Regions from separate parts of the Homo sapiens genome. Here all the other regions are linked to region 1. The links are contacts of gene promoters, found by promoter capture Hi-C in blood cells and fetal thymus (Javierre and others, 2016). All regions are on one chromosome and are shown on one strand. The core of a region is centred on a gene start or on the middle of the fragment in contact, and the rest is flanking DNA. Distances in the headings are between cores, read along the strand shown. Region 1 holds the start of RMND5B (required for meiotic nuclear division 5 homolog B). Region 2 overlaps RUFY1 (RUN and FYVE domain containing 1). Region 3 holds the start of RUFY1 (RUN and FYVE domain containing 1).

What was found. The method cuts DNA at HindIII sites, captures the fragments that hold promoters and counts their contacts. A CHiCAGO score of 5 or more calls a contact.
Region 2: a contact is called between a fragment that was not itself captured here and the fragment with the promoter of RMND5B in region 1, in 1 of 17 cell types (endothelial precursors). The highest score is 6.7, in endothelial precursors.
Region 3: the fragment with the promoter of RUFY1 here is called in contact with the fragment with the promoter of RMND5B in region 1 in 1 of 17 cell types (M0 macrophages); the score reaches 5.1 in M0 macrophages.

The regions. Positions count from the first base shown.
Region 1 is chr5:178,129,300-178,132,915 of GRCh38, forward strand. It overlaps RMND5B (required for meiotic nuclear division 5 homolog B), which reads left to right and starts at 1,715. Exons shown (of 11, transcript NM_022762.5): 1 at 1,715-1,755; 2 at 1,938-2,077. RefSeq lists enhancers at 237-888, 889-1,540, 2,819-3,348 and a silencer at 1,272-1,861. The HindIII fragment of the contact is 11,712 bases long and covers 16-3,616 here.
Region 2 is chr5:179,565,986-179,569,601 of GRCh38, forward strand. It overlaps RUFY1 (RUN and FYVE domain containing 1), which reads left to right. Exons shown (of 18, transcript NM_025158.5): 4 at 1,476-1,577; 5 at 3,317-3,440. The region is part of intron 4 of LOC128966623 (a long non-coding RNA gene); the gene reads left to right. Among named protein-coding and RNA genes, the nearest start is that of RUFY1, 17 kb to the left of the region's middle. The HindIII fragment of the contact is 1,274 bases long and covers 1,136-2,409 here.
Region 3 is chr5:179,548,990-179,552,605 of GRCh38, forward strand. RUFY1 (RUN and FYVE domain containing 1) reads left to right here and starts at 1,565. Exons shown (of 18, transcript NM_025158.5): 1 at 1,565-1,890. The coding sequence starts at 1,581. The region is part of intron 4 of LOC128966623 (a long non-coding RNA gene); the gene reads left to right. LOC105377762 (a long non-coding RNA gene) reads right to left here and starts at 1,515. Exons shown (of 4, transcript XR_941315.4): 1 at 955-1,515. RefSeq lists a silencer at 1,490-2,199. The HindIII fragment of the contact is 8,514 bases long and covers 1-3,616 here.

The DNA.
Region 1 (3,616 bases), core at 465-2,964:
AGGACAATCGCTCGAAGCTTGGAGGTGGAGGTTGCAGTGAACCGAGATCACACCACTGCACTCCAGCCTGGGCAACAGAGCAAGACTTCATCTCAAAAAAAGAAAAAGAAAATTCAGTCTGGACCTGGGTTTGGGGTCAGTGCCTGTTCCCTCCTCCTTCCTAACCCTCACCCTTCCTCCTTAGGGCAGATGGGCAGCTCCCATCTTCTCCCCTTCCCCCGTTCCCCAGGACAGCGACCAACACAGGGCGGCAGGGTAGGGCTGGACCCCCTCCTCCGCAGAACTGAATTCTGTTGAATACCCAGTGGGCAGATTAAGTTCGGGCTAAGGGGACCAGAAAGGCTGGGACAGGAAAGGAGTTTTCTTTTCTTTTCTTTTTTTTTTTTTTGAGACGGAGTCTCGCTCTGTCGCCTAGGCTGGAGTGCAATGGCGCGATCTCGGCTCACTGCAACCTCCGCCTCTCGGGTTCAAACGATTCTCCTGCCTCAGTCTCCCGAGTAGCTAGGATCATGGGACTACAGGCGCCTGCCACCATTCCCGGCTAATTTTTGTATTTTTAGTACAGACGGGGTTTCACCATATTGGACAGGCTGGTCTCGAACTCCTGACCTTATGTTCCGCCCGCCTCAGCCTCCCAAAGTGCTGGGATTACAGGCGTGAGCCGCCCGGCCCGGAGTTTTCTATTCTTTTTTTTTGAGACGGAGTCTCGCTCTGTCGCCCAGGCTGGAGTGCAGTGGCGCCGTCTCGGCTCACTCCGAGCTCCGCCTCCCGGGTTCACGACATTCTCCTGCCTCAGCCTCCCGAGTGGCTGGGACTACAGGCGCCCCCCACCTCGCCCGGCCAATTTTTTGTATTTTTAGTAGAGACGGGGTTTCACCGTGTTAGCCAGGATGGTCTCGATCTCCTGACCTCCTGATCCGCCCGCCTCGGCCTCCCAAAGTGCTGGGATTACAGGCGTGAGCCGCCGCGCCCGGCCTGGAGTTTTCTTTTTTTTTTTAAGCATCACTTCATATTTCAAGAGCTCTCAGTTCTCCTGAGATTTCTAGGCTCTGTCCAGGATCCCTAAGCCTGTTCACAGTCCTACTTGAAGTTTCTAATCTTTCTTTTCTCATTAACCAAAACTGGAGAGAGGAAAAAGCCCATCATTTTCCCTGGACAGCAGCGCCTACTGGGAGTTTCACCCGCATTAACATGCAAACGACAGGCAAACTCCTAGTCATCCTTCCAAAGACCCTGCTCCACAGCCCTGCCGAGGCCGGTGCGCACCTAGCCCAGCCACTGCCCCTCACGGCCCCCGCGCCGCCCTCACTGAGCAGGGCGGGCAGCGCTGTAAGCGTAACCACTTGGGGCTTGGGGCTTCTGACCCGGGAGTCGGGTGCTGGGTTGAGTGCGAGGCCGACGCCTCTGCCGGGTGGGGAACCCGCCCGCCGGCGAGGAGCGGTCGCGGCCAGGGGCTTCCGCCGACTGGGAGGCCCGGGGCCGGGCCGGAGGGACTCGGAACCTGGAAACGACCAGGCGCGACCCCCAGAGGACTACAGGCGCGGCTTTTCTGGCCGCCGCCCGGTTCCCGCGGGCGACTCCACTCGGCATGCGCGGCGGGGAGCCTCGGCGGTGAGGCGCAAAGCCGCGGGCTCGTGGGACGGCCACCCCTCCGCAAAACCGCCAATGGGCGGGCCCGGGCCGCCGATCGCCCGCCGCGGCTTCCGGTTCCGATGACAGTGGCGCCGGAAGCCGGGGCCGGGGCTGCGGGGCGAGGTGAGAGCGGGCGGGCTTGGGAGCCGGCAGGTGCGGGCCGAGGGCGGGCACAGCGGCCGGCGGAGCTGAGGCGCGCGGCGGGGAAAGCTCGGCCGGCCTCCCGGGCCCCAGCCTTCTCCAGAACCCCTGCTACCCACGACTAAGCCCCGAACAATCTGCCCTTGGGCTTGTTCTCTTCGCAGTTGTCGGCCCTGGGCCGGGAGCTGGAGTCCCAGACTCATAGGTCCCGGCCCAGCCCCCGAAGAGCCGCCTCAGCCGGGGGGAGTTGCTCGGACTCAAACGTCCAGTCCTCGTGCGACCGCGCTGGGTCGGAAGTGAGCAGGTGCGCACCGGGCTCGGCAGGGCTATGGAGCAGGGTCTTTGGAAGGATGACTAGGAGTTTGCCTGTCGTTTGCATGTTAATGCGGGTGAAACTCCCAGTAGGCGCTGCTGTCCAGGGAAAATGATGGGCTTTTTCCTCCCTCCAGTTTTGGTTAATGAGAAAAGAAAGATTAGAAACTTCAAGTAGGACTGTATAGTAAAAAAAAAAAAAAAATGGAGGAGGGCGATATGACACGGTAACTGGTGTGAGGGTGGGGCGGAGGGGTCAGTATTAGATACTGTGGTCTAGCAGAGCATCTCTGAGGACGGGACATTTGCGTTGAGACCCAAATTAGGAGGCAGGCTTAGGAAGATACGGGAAGAGAGTGGTCCAGGCAGCGGGAACAGCCAGTGTGAAGGCCCTAGGGCAGAAATCAACTGAGAGTATAGTCAAGGAACAGAAAGCAAGCTAGTGTGGCTAAAGTATGGTAAGAAAGGGAAAGAGTGGTAGGAGATGAGGTCGGATAATTGGGGTTTGGTCACATAGAGTCTGTAGGTCAGAGAGAGGAATGTGGAGTTTTTTCTAAGTACAGTGGAAATCTTTTGGTTTTAAGCAGAGGAGTGACATGTAGGGTAGAGAGTGGATGGAGGTCGCGGCTGCAAAAGCATAAGAATTGGCTGGGCACGGTGGTTCACGCCCGTAATTCCAGCACTTTGGGAGGCTGAGACTGGCAGACGGCTTGAGCTCAGCACTTCAAGACCAACCTGGCCAACATGGTGAAACCCTGTCGCTCCAAAAAATTAGGCTGGGCGCAGTGGCTCACGCTTGTAACCCCAGCACTTTGGGAGGCCAAGGCGGGAGGATCACTTGAGGCCAGGAGTTCAAGACCAGCCTGGCCAACATGGTGAAACCCCGTCTCTACTAAAAATACAAAATTTAGCCGGGTGTGGTGGCAGGTGTCTGTAATTCCAGCTACTTGGGAGGCTGAGGCAGGAGAATCGCTTGAAACTGGGAAGCAAAGGTTGCAATGAGCCAAGATCGTGCCACTGTACTCCAGCCTGGGCGACAGAGTAAGACTCTGTCTCAAAAACAAACAACAAAAAAATTAGCCAGGTGTGGTGGGGAGAGAGGGGAAGAATAGGGACAAAAGGGAATACATAAATAAACACAAAGGAGAAAAGGCCCTGCATGGACCACTTACATGTGTCATGAACTCAGGAGTGTTCATGGTGGGACTACATGGTGCACCTGTAGTCCCAGCTTCTTGGGGTGGGGGGCTGAGGTGGGAGGATCACTTGAGCCCAGGAGGTCGAGGCTGCAGTGAGCCCTGATTGTACCACAGCACTCTGGCCTGGGAAACAGATTGAGACCCTGTCTCTCTCTTTTTTTTTTTTTTTTTAAGCAACCCTATTAACTGAAGAGACCCTGCCTCACAAAAAAAAAAAAAAAAAAAAAAAAGCGTTAAGAATTGGGTCAATGGAGGTTGTCTAATCTTTTTTTTTTGTTTTTGTTTGTTTGTTTGTTTTTTTGAGACAGTCTCACTCTGTCGCCCAGGCTGGA
Region 2 (3,616 bases), core at 523-3,022, 1.4 Mb after region 1:
AAAAATTAGTTGGGTGTGGTAGCACGTGCCTGCTGTCCCAGCTACTCCGGAGGCTTAACGCAGGGTTATCACTTGAGCCTGGGAGTTCCAGGCTGCAGGGAGCCATCATCATGCCATTCAACAGCATGGGCGACTGAGCAAGACCCTGTCTCCAAAAAAAAAAAGAAAGTTGTGAAGTTTACAGTCTCACCAAGCAGCACTTGAGAGGCCTTTTTTCTTTTAATGTTTAATGCAGGCCTGTTCTTTCTTTCTTTCCTTTTCCTTTTTTCTTTTCTTTTCTCTTCTTTTCTTTCTTTTCTGCTTCTCTGGAGATAATGCTAGAATACAGAAAAATTACACCTTCAAGATTGGGGCCAGGCCTGTAATCCCAGCACTTTAGGAGGCCAAGGTGGGTGGATTACTTGAGGTCAAGAGTTTGAGACTAGCCTGGCCAACATGGTGGAAACCCCATCTCTACTAAAAATACAAAAATTAGCTGGGCGTGGTGGCAGGTGCCTGTAATCCCAGCTACTCGGGAGGCTGAGGCAGGAGAATCACTTGAACCTGCGAGGTGGAGGATGCAGTGAGCCAAGATCACAACGGTGAGCCAAGATTGTGCCACTGCACTCTAACCTGGGTGACAGAGTGAGGCTCCATCTCGAAAAAAAAAAAAAAAAAGATTGGTTCCACAACATTGTGAATGTACTTAACACTACTTAACTGTAAGATTAAAAATGGTTAACATGGTAAATTTTATGTTCTGTGTATCTTACCACAATTAATAATAAAACATAAAATTATACCTTTAAGGCCAGGTGCAGTGGCTCATGCCTGTAATCCCAGCACTTTGCGAGGCCAAGGCAGCCTGATCACTTGAGGCCAGGAATTTGAGACCAGCTTGGCTAACATGGCAAAACCCTGTCTCTACTAAAAACAAAAATTAGCCAGGTGTGGTGATGCATGCCTGTAATCCCAGCTACTCAGGAGGCTGAGCCATGAGAATCGCTTGAACCCAGGAGGCGGAGGTTGCAATGAGCTGAGATTGCACCACTGCACTCCAGCCTGGGCAACAGGCAAGACTCTATCTCAAAAAAAAATAAAAAATAAAAAATAAAAAGTACGTTTGAGCTAACCCTAACCCCTTAGAGATTTTATAAGCTTCAGCACTTTAACAAGCACTAAGTTCTCTATTCGTCTTTTGAAGGAATGTTTATCCATTACACAAATCTAACCTGATATTTTCCTGTGATATTTTATGACTATAAGCAAAGCATTATCTAATTGTATTTGTAATAGTACTCAAAGGTATGTGGTGAGCCATTTTCGCTGCCTGCCCAGGCCATGTGCATCCCTCCCCAACCCCAAACAGCCATTCTTAGAGTATCGTCTGCATTTACAAGGGTGTGTTTCCTATGTGTCTCCCTGGCTAAATCAGGTGTCTTTTCTGTGTTTGTTGTTGTTATGCCACAATAGTTGATTCTCTGTTTGAATTCTAGGACAGCTGTGGGAAGAGGCCGAGCGTGGCTTTATCTTGCACTCATGCAAAAGAAACTGGCAGATTATCTGAAAGTGCTTATAGACAATAAACATCTCTTAAGGTATTTCATCAACCATGTTTGCTTATCTTTTGCTTGGTAAATAATTAGAACATAGGCTGGGTGCGGTGGCTCACACCTGTAATCCCAGCACTTTGGGAGGCCAAGATCAGGTGGATTGCTTGAGGTCCGGAGTTCAAGACCAGCCTGGCCAACATGGTGTCGTATTTTTAGTAGAGACTAAAAATACGAAAATTAGCCAGGTGTGGTGGCAGGTGCCTGTAATCCCAGCTACTCAGAAGGCTGAGGCAGGAGAATCGCTCGAACCCGCGAGGCGGAGGTTGCAGTGAGCCGAGATCACGCCACTGCACTCCAGCCTGGGCGACAGAGTGAGACTCCTTCTCAAAAAAATAATAATTAGAACATAGTTCTGTAGATCATTTTGAATTAAAATAAGTGTATCAGCCAGGTGTGGTGGCTCATGCCTGTAATCCCAGCACTTTGGGAGGCCAAGGCAGGCTGATCACTTGAGGTCAGAAGTTCAAAAACAACCTGGACAACATGGTAAAACCCCATCTCTGCTAAAAATACTAAATTAGCTGGGCATGGTGGCATATGCCTATAATCCCAGCTACTCAGGACGCTGAGGCAGGAGGATTGCTTGAACCCAGGAAAGCAGAGGTTGCAGTGAGCCAAGATCACACCACTGTACCTCCAGCCTGGGCAACAGAGCAAGACTCTGTCTCAAAATAAAAAATAAAAAAATAAGTATATAATATTTACAGAAATTTATGACTGGTTCATTTTTTATATTTATAAGTAAGCAATAATCATTATAAAAGGAATGTTCTCTAGACTGTGATGATTTACGAGGAAGGACTCTTTCCAGAGTTAAAGCTTTCTTGTAATTGAGAAATAGATACATTTTACAGCATAGCCTAAAACCCAAGCCTTTCAGTGTTTTCAAGTCATGGCTCATTGTCGAACATATCTTTACACGACAAATACTGATTTACAATATTTCACATACTCTGAGTAGTTACACTGAGTAACTTTGAGTTACAGATTTTCTTCTAATGAACAAAGTATTTTTCAATTTTTTATTTATAATCGATACAAAATTATACATATTTATGGGATACTATGCATGTATACACTATGTAATGATGAAATCAGGGTAATTACCATATCCCTCACTTTACTAATGAACTAATTCTTAAGAGAAAAGTCTTATACGCACACACACACAGTGGCCTGGATGCCACTGGATTTGGTACATTAGCAAGTCATTGCTGACCAGAGCAATATCAGGCAGGGGATGGACCACCCCCTGCAAATGGCCGCGATAACTGGGCAATAAAGGAAGTAAAGCAACAGATGTTGCTCCGTGGGACGCAAGAAGGAGGAGTGTTATTCTTGGATGTGGGATCCCATTTCCTGTTTATATCAGCATAAGTGGAGAAGTAATTCATATCAACACAGAACAGGAGCCAGTGGAGACACAGGAGGGGAGAGTGACAGGAGTCAAGAGGAGACGAGGAGAACTGGGGTCCAGGGTCTGCATGGAGGAGTTAACTTTAGACAGGAGGAGAGGCGAGCCCATTCTAAGCCACAGGAAGAGAGGAGAGGACGGGAGAAAAAGCAGCCGTTGAAGCAGTGAAGAGAAATGAAAGGGAGGGAGGAAATCCACAGCAGTATCTTCTGGCTCCAGGGCACAGGTGAAAAGGCAGTTCAGGGTGGGGAAGGAGTGGGGATGGTGAAGCTGTTTCTGAGCATCGCCCTGTCCTGTCCATCTCTTTCAGCGAGTTCTATGAGCCTGAGGCTTTAATGATGGAGGAAGAAGGGATGGTGATTGTTGGTCTGCTGGTGGGACTCAATGTTCTCGATGCCAATCTCTGCTTGAAAGGAGAAGACTTGGATTCTCAGGTAAAATGAAATTTTGGCTCTAGATGAACACTTTCGTTAGTCCAGGGACTTTACATAGGATCTGCAAACAGGTACTGAACCCAAAGAAGGGCAAATGGCAAAGAGCCCACTGGTAGAGGACCCCAGGGATGCAGCTGGGGAAGGTCTCGGAAGGGTGAAGAAGTTGCATAGCCAGA
Region 3 (3,616 bases), core at 315-2,814, 1.4 Mb after region 1:
AATTAGCCGGGCGTGGTGGCGGGCACCTGTAGTCCCAGCTACTCGGGAGGCTGAGGCAGGAGAATGGCGTGAACCCGGGAGGTGGAGCTTGCAGTGAACCGAGATCGCGCCACTGCACTCCAGCCTGGGCGACTGAGCGAGACTCCGTACGAAAACAAACAAACAAAAAAGACTGGTAGTATGCCCTCAGTCATTACACAACTCAAACACCAACTCCACAAATTCCCAAAACACTCCTAGATGAAGTGGTATCCCTTCACTGAGAACTGGCCTTTCAGGGACCAGACATATCATGCAACCTAGTGAAGTGGGCTGGACCAAGACAGGTCCAGGGAGCAGCTGGGCGTCTAAAGGGGCAGCACAGTTTATTCCCAACAGTTTGTTGCCATCTGGGAATATGCCATGAGTTACCAAATATTCCAGTGATTCCAGAGAAAGCTAAAATCCAGATTCTTATGTGAAATCTTTTGATTTCTAAATATTGGCAACAAGTTTTAAGATTTGTAAACATTCTGGGAATCAAAACAGCTCTGCTGGTTTGGTGTGGCTCATGTTGCCTCACTTTGCAAAGTGTTAAGTGCTAGTAAATTTTAGTGTTTTTTCTGAGACAGGGTCTCACTTTGTCGCCCAGCCTGGAGTGCAGTGGCCATGATCTCCGCTCACTGTGGGATCGACCTCCCGGGCTCAAGCGATCCTCCCACTCTCAGCCCCCCAAGGAGCTAGGAGTAGAGCTGTCCCGCCACGACATCTGGCTGGTTTTTTGTTGTTGTTGTTGTTGTTGTTTTGGTATTTTAGTAGAGACGGGGTTTCGTCCTACTAAAGGCCCGCCTGGGCCTTCCGAAGTGCTGGGATTACAGGCGTGAGCCACCGCGCCCGGCCAAAATTTTCCTTTGTACTTACTCAAATTCCTTTCTTTTCCAAGTGAAGAAACAGACTGAGTGTATAGTGACTTACCCAGGCCACACAGTTGGATACCAGAGATAGTAGTCACAATCGCTAACATCTGCCATGTGGTCCTTACTGCAAATCTTATTTAATAATGAGGTCGGTTTTTGTTATCCCACTTAACTAATCAATAGGAGAAGCCACCTCTGATTTCCAGTCCACTATCGTGCACTCTTTCTTGCCAAGCCGTCATAGTCATTAGATTAAAAAAAAAAAAAAATTCCTGCTTTCCTGCCTCGCCTGTGCGTTTCCTTAGTCGCCCTTTCGGGGCTTGTTCTAATGAGTGCTACAGAAAAATGACGAAGTGGAAAATATAGACCATGAAATGAAAATTTAAAAGAGGAAATGGTGTCACAAAGACAACGACGGCCAGGGAACCCCGTGAAGCGCCGGGCAGGGTGCACAACTGTCCTCGGAGAAAGTTCAAGAGGAACTTCCCCGCGAACAGGTCCTGCCGGCGGCCGGGAATACGCACACTTTTTATGTTATGACTTGGACTTTCCCGAACCTTTCGAAACAGAGGGAAGGCGAGGCGGTGAAGAGGGAGAAAAATCTCCCCCACCTAAGGCAAAGGCGATGCCCGCCCGCCCCCACCCCGCGCCCGCCCGCCCGCTGGGTCACATGACACGGCCAAGATGGCCGACCGGGAAGGCGGCTGCGCTGCTGGGCGGGGGCGGGAGCTGGAGCCGGAGCTGGAGCCGGGGCCGGGGCCCGGGTCAGCGCTTGAGCCGGGAGAAGAGTTTGAGATCGTGGACCGAAGCCAGCTGCCCGGCCCAGGCGACCTGCGGAGCGCAACGAGGCCGCGGGCGGCCGAGGGCTGGTCGGCGCCCATCCTGACCCTGGCACGCAGGGCCACCGGGAACCTGTCGGCGAGCTGCGGGAGCGCGCTGCGCGCGGCCGCGGGGCTGGGCGGCGGGGACAGCGGGGACGGCACGGCGCGCGCAGGTAGGCTCGGGCCGGGTCTGTCCCGCGGCGGACTCGCGTGTCCCCGCTGGCCGCCGGCGCGGGCGCGGTGGGGGCCGGGCTGGGAGGGCACTGGCCGTTCCGGGAGGTTACGCGAGCTGTTGGCGGGCGGGCGGCGCCTGGCTGCGCCTGGGTCTTTACTCCGGCGGCCCAGCCGAGACCGCCCCCCGCAGCCCCGCGTGCCTGAGCGCGCTCCCGCACCCGCGCCTCTATGCTCTCCCACTAACTAGGTGAAGGACGTGTGCGCGTCCGGGCTTCGGAACTCTGTAGTAACTCCACACACGAAACGGAGCCAGCACTGTTCTGCTTTTCAGCCGTTCAGTGCGGGAGTGGAGCGCCGGCGGGTGTTGGGAGGGCGTGGGCCCTGCGCGCAGCGGACCAGCGGCGCCTCCGCTCACCTCTGCCTGTGAGATGGGGATTTTAAAGTCACCCGATGATCTCTTAAAGACCTTTTCAGCCCTTGTAATGAACAGAGTGCCAGCATATCAGTGATAGTAAGAGTTAAGTAACTTAGCCCTCTAACGCCAGACATCCAGAGCTGTGCTATCCAATACAACAGCACGCATATGTTTTTGTGTGTGTGTTTTTGTTTTTATTTATTTTTATTTTTTTGAGACCGGGTCTTGCTCTGTCGCCCAGGCTGGAGTGCAGTGGTGCGATCTCGGCTCACTGCACCCTCTGCCTCCCGGGTTCAAGCGATCCTCCCTCCCGCCTCAGCCTCCCGAGTAGCTGGGATTACAGGTGCCCACCACCACGCTCGGCTAAGTTCCCCGCCCCCACCCCCCTCCCATATTTTTAGTAGAAACGGGGTTTCACCATCTTGGCCAGGCTGGTCTTGAACTCCTGACCTTGTGATACACCTGCCTCGGCCTCGTAAAGTACTGGGACTACAGGCTTGAGCCACCGCGCCCGGCCGGATTCCTCAATTTCTAACTGAATCAATTGAAATTCAGTACTTTTAAATTGAATTAAAAATTGAGTTCCTCGGCCGGGAGCGGTGGCTCACGCCTGTAATCCCAGCACTTTGGGAGGCCGAAGCGGGTGGATCACGAGGTCAAGAGATCGAGACCATCCTGGCCAACATGGTGAAACCCCGTCTCTACTAAAAATACAAAAAATTAGCTGGGTGTGTTGGCATGCACCTGTAGTCCCAGCTACTCAGGAGGCTGAGGCAGGAGAATCGCTTGAACCTGGGAGGCAGAGGTTGCAGTGAGCCGAGATCGCGCCACTGCACTCCAGCCTGGGTGACAGAGCGAGACTCTGTCTCAAAAAAAAAAAAAAAAAAAAAAACTTGTTCCTCGATTACAGCGGCCACATTTTAAATGCTCAGTAGCCTGTGTGTGGCCAGTGGCTACTGTATGAGATAGCACATAATAGAACATTGCCAACTTCATAGAAAATGCTGGGACAGAGCTGAGGAAAGGTTGTGGTGCCTTCCAAGGAGCATCATAGCACACACTCGAGGCTTCCTGATTCCTCCCCATCCACTGGTACCTTTGCTGTAGATGCACTGACCCCAGGTAGTGAATTGTGAGATTTTCAGTGGTCAAGAATAATTACTGAGTAAAGTTGAAAGGCTGACTCGTTTTGAGATCCTGGCAGTGGAAAATAGCATTAGAGGATGATGAGAGCCTGGGCAGGCCGGGAATCTACTGCCCTCTAGCTTGACACCTTTTCCCGAGACTTTTCCACACATCAGTGGATGCTG